Regions from separate parts of the Homo sapiens genome. Here region 1 is linked to region 2. Evidence: promoter capture Hi-C in human tissues and cell types (Jung and others, 2019). All regions are on one chromosome and are shown on one strand. Each heading gives the region's core, a stretch centred on a gene start or on the middle of the fragment in contact. The rest is flanking DNA. Distances are from core to core; before and after follow the strand shown.

Evidence for each region. The method cuts DNA at HindIII sites, captures the fragments that hold promoters and counts their contacts. A contact is called where the count stands out against the background at its distance.
Region 1: a contact is called between a fragment that was not itself captured here and the fragment with the promoter of ZNF507 in region 2, in 1 of the 25 tissues and cell types used here (dorsolateral prefrontal cortex).

Annotation. Positions count from the first base shown.
Region 1 is chr19:30,696,440-30,699,547 of GRCh38, reverse strand. It overlaps a transcript of ZNF536 not described here. Among named protein-coding and RNA genes, the nearest start is that of ZNF536-AS1, 28 kb to the right of the region's middle. The HindIII fragment of the contact is 6,760 bases long and covers 1-3,108 here.
Region 2 is chr19:32,344,118-32,346,874 of GRCh38, reverse strand. It overlaps ZNF507 (zinc finger protein 507), which reads right to left and starts at 1,265. Exons shown (of 7, transcript NM_001136156.2): 1 at 1,092-1,265. RefSeq lists silencers at 1,092-1,281, 1,312-1,441. The HindIII fragment of the contact is 20,549 bases long and covers 1-2,757 here.

The DNA.
Region 1 (3,108 bases), core at 201-2,700, 1.6 Mb after region 2:
TTAAAAAAATATTCATCCATCTCATCAAAGATGCTAAAACACTTTGGAATATCCTTAGTACAAATAAATTTAGGTTTCAAATTTCCTGTGATTTGGGTTTTAATTTAGAAGGCTACCCAAAAAAAAATGTACTTATTTTACAAGTGCATTTTGATCTGTGTGGTAATGGATTGAAGACATCTGTGTGAACTCAAGCTTAACTTCATATTTATAATATAGATGTGTGTATATACAGGAGTTAGTACACAAGCATATATTTCCTTATTCTGTCAGCTGAGAGGGTCTAGAAGTGGTGACATTGGTTTCTAATACCACTCCCAAAAAAAGGGAACCAGGGCTCCTTGGAGAAATGGCTGATTCTAGGACTGGGATAGGAAATACACCAAAATAATCCCGGGGTATTTAGTGCTAGAAAGTAAGAAAGTACTAAAAAAAAACCCCCACATATTGATGGTGGAGTGGGGGTGTCAGATTAGCACAGAGCTTGCTGAAGAAGCCCCCATACCCAAAGGTAGAACCATTTGAGTAACAAAGTAAACAACATAATATCAGATTATGACCCAGAGTCTAAAATAAATATCCACAAATCATACTGGCATAAATGATTGCATCAATAAATACAGGGGGAAGGATTGACAAATGCCTTGTGCATTCCAAATAATTTTGTAGCTATTTCTTGCTCAAGGAGACGGAGCATATCTCCCTACTCCTTAAGAGTGGACTGTGCCAAGTGACTTCCTTCCAAAGAGTACAGTATGGAAAGGGACGGGAGAGTAACTTCCGTGGAGAAACCAGACAAACATGACCTCAGCCAGCAGACCAAGGTCAGGCTGACAGCAGGTGCCCTTGACTTGATATGATGAGAATGGTAATTTACCTTTGTGGTCTTCCTTCCCTAAATCCATAACCCCAGTCTACACATGAGAAATTGCAACTGAGGGACGTTCTGCAAAATACTCCTGGAAACTGTCAAGGTCATCAGAAACAAGAAAAGTGAGAAACTGTTGCAGCCAGGAAGGTGGAAGGAGACAGGACACCTAAGGTAATATGGTATCCTGGAGCAGAACAGGACATCGGATAAAAACTAAAACACTAAGAATACAAGATGGACTTTATTTAAAAATAATGTGTCAATATTGCTTCGTGAATTGTGACAAACATACCCTACCAATGTAAGATGTTAATAATAGTGGGAAATGGCGGTGAAATCTATGAGAGTTCTCTGTATTATCTATGCAAACTTTTTTTTTTTTTTTGAGACTGAGTCTTGCTCTGTCACCCAGGCTGGAGTACAGTGGCGCAGTCTCAGTTCACTGCAGCGTCCACCTCCCAGGTTCAAGTGATTCTCCAGACTCAGCATCCTGCGTAGCTGGGACTACAGGCGTGCACCAATGGGTCCAGCTAATTTTTGTATTTTTAGTAGAGACTGGGTTTCACCATGTTGGCCAGGCTGGTCTTGAACAGTTGACCTCAGGTGATCCGCCTGCCATGGCCTCCCACAGTGCTGGGATTACAGGCGTGAAGCACCACATCCCACGTCTATGAAACATTTTTATAAATCTAAATCCATACTAAAATTAAAAGTTTATTTTGAAAGTTTATTTAAAAGTGGATTTGATTGATTTTCTGTGAACAGGAAGAAACCAACACCCCACATCAAGAGATGCTTCCAAAGTCACAGAACCAAACAGGTAATACTTAACTTCTGTTGACACGAAAACTTCTGGAGGGCATATGGCACACACACAGTCTGCTGGGCCTGCAACCCAAGGATCAGGGAAGGCAGCAGAGCAGATTTTGAGAAATCGCCACTGCCCTGCTAGCATGCAGCATTTTTCATTATTCAAGCACAGTGATGAAGACTGTAGATTTTCAAGCCAGACACCAAGGCTCTAACGTATCTGCCTCTTATCGGTTGTGTGTGCTCTTGAACCAGCTAGTTAACCTTTCTAAGTCTCAGTTTTCTCATCGGTAAAATGGGTGCAATAATAATAATAGCTCCCTAATAGGATTGCTGTGAGGATTCAATGAGATGAGGCCTGATGCTTAAGCACAAAGTGCAGCACATAGAGTTAAATGAATGTCTGCTAGAAAAGGCTGTAAGTATTAAAATACTCCACCTACTACGTGCCCATTGCATGGTAACCTTGAACTTCAAATGGGAGATGTGCATTTTGATTCCTCTGCCAATGCTGAAATCAGGGGTTGGGCTCCCATTTGTTGGATGATATGGTTTGGCTCTGTGTCCCCATCCAAATCTCAACTTGAATTGCGATCCCTAGGTGTTGAGGCAGGGACCTGGTGGGAGGTGATTGGATCATGGGGACCATTTCCCCCATGCTGTTCTCTTGATAGTGAGGGAGTTCTCATGAGTGCTGATGGTTTTAAAAGTGTTTGGCAGTTCCCACTTGCTCTCTCTCTCACCTGCCCCCATGCCTGGCTTCCCCTTTACCTTACGCCATGACTGTAAGTTTCCTGAGGCCTCCTCAGCCATGCAGAACTATGAGTCAATTAGACCTCTTTTGTTTATAAATTACCCTGTCTCTGATCATATCTTTGTAGCAGTGTGAGAATGGACTAGCACAGCATCTGTCCAGAGCCACAAAGCCAGAGAGAGGCAGAACATGGTCCTGCAGCTGGAGCTCAACCTGCACTGTGTCTTGCTGTCTCCCTGCAGCTTGAGGCCCAAGTTGAGTTAGGATAAGAGCTTAGATGTCGCCAGATTTCAGCAGGGCATCAGCAGAGAGGAGCCTCTGGCTGGTGGTGCAGAGTCTCCCATGCCTCCCAGCTCAGCCCCACCAGGTGTTGGCTTCAGGGCTACTCTTCCTGGGGCCTGGCCTCTAGGTGGCTCCCTTCCCCAGCAACTTCATCCCCCGCCATTGCGCATGCCCTACAGATTTTGCCTTATATCCTGTTTATTTGCTTACCCAGGCTCCTCTGATGAGTGGAGCCATCAGCCCGCCTGGGTGGTCAGGCAAGCCGGCCTGCCCTGCCAGTGTGCACTCAACAGCAACTATTGATCGGGGACCTTAAATCATTGCCCGGATTTTATGAAAGCATTTATGTTTATCATTAAATAACCTTCAAAGGGTCAATGAACTTACATTC
Region 2 (2,757 bases), core at 16-2,515:
CGAGTGATTCTGCAACCAAGCACAATAGGCAGAAAAACAGCATAAAAAGATATGACACAGTGGTGTGACCTATATATCTTCTAACGCAGTTTCCTACTCTGGTCCTACATTTCTTTGCCACTGTTTCTTATACTGGCTGGAATAAATCTAAAAGATAAAAAAATGCTTATTCGTTTCACCTAGAATGCAACTACCTTATCGATTACGGTTAAGTAAAATAGCTCACTGCCAGGGCAGAAAAAACATCTTTAGGGCTCCCCTGAAGTTAATTTTCAACGAGTTAGTGAGGTAAAGGAATGAAGGGCCAGGCTTTCTTTTAATCAATAATGCAACCCATACTCTGAGTGAGAGGGGAGTACTGGAGAAAGTGCAAACTCAAAGAGGTGATAAATCCAGTAATTGCCTGAGAAGAGCGATGCAGACTGATAGCAAATTACAGCCCACTGCAGAAACTTAAAAATACCGCCTTGGGGTTGGGAAAGTGGCCGCCACCTTATTAATCATCCCGGCCTTCTACACAAACCATTCATTCCGATGCCCCCAGGTCTTAAGAGGTGGGAACTTTCCCTGATGGTCTCCGTGATCTCTGGAGACATCATTCTATCTCCAGAGGATGGTAATAAATGCAGAAGACCAGGGCTGCGTTTCTGTAGTAGCTTTTTCTACACCACGCACTGGCTAAAGGACTGAGGTGATGGGTCGGGAATGAGGGAGCTTAGAAAATTAATCAAAAGATGCTGTGAGAACATCGTGGCTGGGTCCATCCCGGCTGGCCTAAGCGATCTCACATTTGCAGAAAGAAGCAACGCCTGGAGAAGGAAGCAACGCCTGCGGGCGGGCCGGGCTGGTGACAGTATGCAGGGAGCAGCAAGTTCCCCCCACCCCCAGCTGCAGGGCAAGCCCAGAGTCTCCGCAGGCCTTGCTGCACAGAAGACAGAACCGGGACACGGAACTTGGGGCTTGTGGCTAGCACCGGGCGGGGGTCGGCCGGCTGAGGAGGAAGCGAGCGCCGGCAGAGGCCTGAGGGGAGGATGCACATGGCCGGCGGCGGCGCTAACAGCGGGCGGAGGGGCGGCCCCGGGGCGCGGTACCTGCGGTCAGGCGGCGGCTGCTGCTTCCGCGAGCCTCGTTTGGCCAGCCAGGACCCGGCCGTGCCCTCGCCCTCGTCCTTGCCCACCTCTCTCCCGGCTCTTTTCCCTCTTTTCCCCCGGTTTCCCCCTCCTCATCCGGAGCTCCAAAATGGCGGCGCTGGGGACGGATCACGTGAGCCGCGGGTGGGTCAGGTGACCCGAATGGCGGGCAGCGGGGGCGGGGCGAGGCTCAGGCCCCGCCTACCGGCGTCCCGGGCCGCCGAGGCTGGACCCGCGAGAGGGAGGCTCCCCAGCCGGTTTAGCCCCTTGCAAACCCTGGCTCCCGGGCGGGGTTCGGGCCCAGTTGTCTGGCTCTCATGGCCCCTTCCAGACGTCTAGATTTAGAAGTCACCGTGTATTCACTTTGGCATCTCCCCACGTCGCCTAAATCCGCTGTGGGCTAGCCTTATCACCCCACTCACCCCGCAATTGGCTTTCAACAATGGGCATTGGGGTTTTTTTTTTTTTTTTCTTTAGCCTTGTGCTTCTGGATTTGTATTAGTTCCTTTGGTAGGACTGTACATTTCAAGGTGTTCTTGGCTAAAATATAGAGGTCCTAGCCAGATTCGCAGCTTGGCGTTAAGGGGTGCCTGTTAAGGGCCAGAGCTGGCCCTGGGGAATCTCTTTGCTTGAGAGATTCAGGATTTTCAGGGTTTGTAGGACCAGACCCAGTAACACAAGCTCAGCCCTCCGAGGGCACGATGGTGTTTGTCATTCGGATCTGTTCTATGAAAGATACTAGGGTGGTTCTCCTGCTAACAGTGAAAAACGGACTAAGTGAAGCATTCCAGCCAATTTCACCAAAAATGCTGGATAGTTTTGCCGTATTAGGAACTACGCAGCATGGTGCTTGGGTCTGGACTCCGGGTGAGCGGTGGGCATGAGCAAGGGTGTAAAACTGAAGATTCTGGCCATTGTAGTGGAATGGACTCATTTGGTGAGATACCTCTTGGGGATCTGTTCCAGATCTTTTTAGAGGCCTTTACAGCTGGCTGGGCTGTCCACGGTCCTGGGAGGAAGATCCAACAAAATTTAGAATCAGACAGGCTGATAATTCCTGTTACTGTATTTCAGAATTCAAATTCATCTGAATTTGGGGGTTAGGAAACCAGCAAAGTTAGAATTTTTATTTTTATTTTTATTTTATTTTTTTGAGTCAGAGTCTCACTCTCTCCCCAGGCTGGAGTGCAGGGGCGCAATCTCGGCTCACTGCAACCTCCACCTCCCAGGTTCAAGTGATTCTCCTGCCTCAGCCTCCCGAGTAGCTGGCACTACAGGGCGTGCCACCATGCCCAGCTAATTTTTTTGTATTTTTAGTAGAGACGGGGTTTCACCATGTTGGCCAGGATGGTCTCGATCTCTTGACATCATGATCCGCCCGCCTCAGCCTCCCAAAGTGCTGGGGTTACCGGCGTGAGCCACCGCGCCCGGCTGCAAAGTTAGAATTCTGCTATTCCACAGAATCCTTTGCCAATTAGACCAAATAGCTGTGAAAAAATAAAATGTTGAGTAATTTTTTTTTCGATAAAAGGTAAGAGATTGAGCAGGAGACTAGCATGGAAGGGTGGAAAGAAAAAACAGTGAAGAAAACCCAGAAATACGAAGTGTTGAAAGGGAGAACAAACAA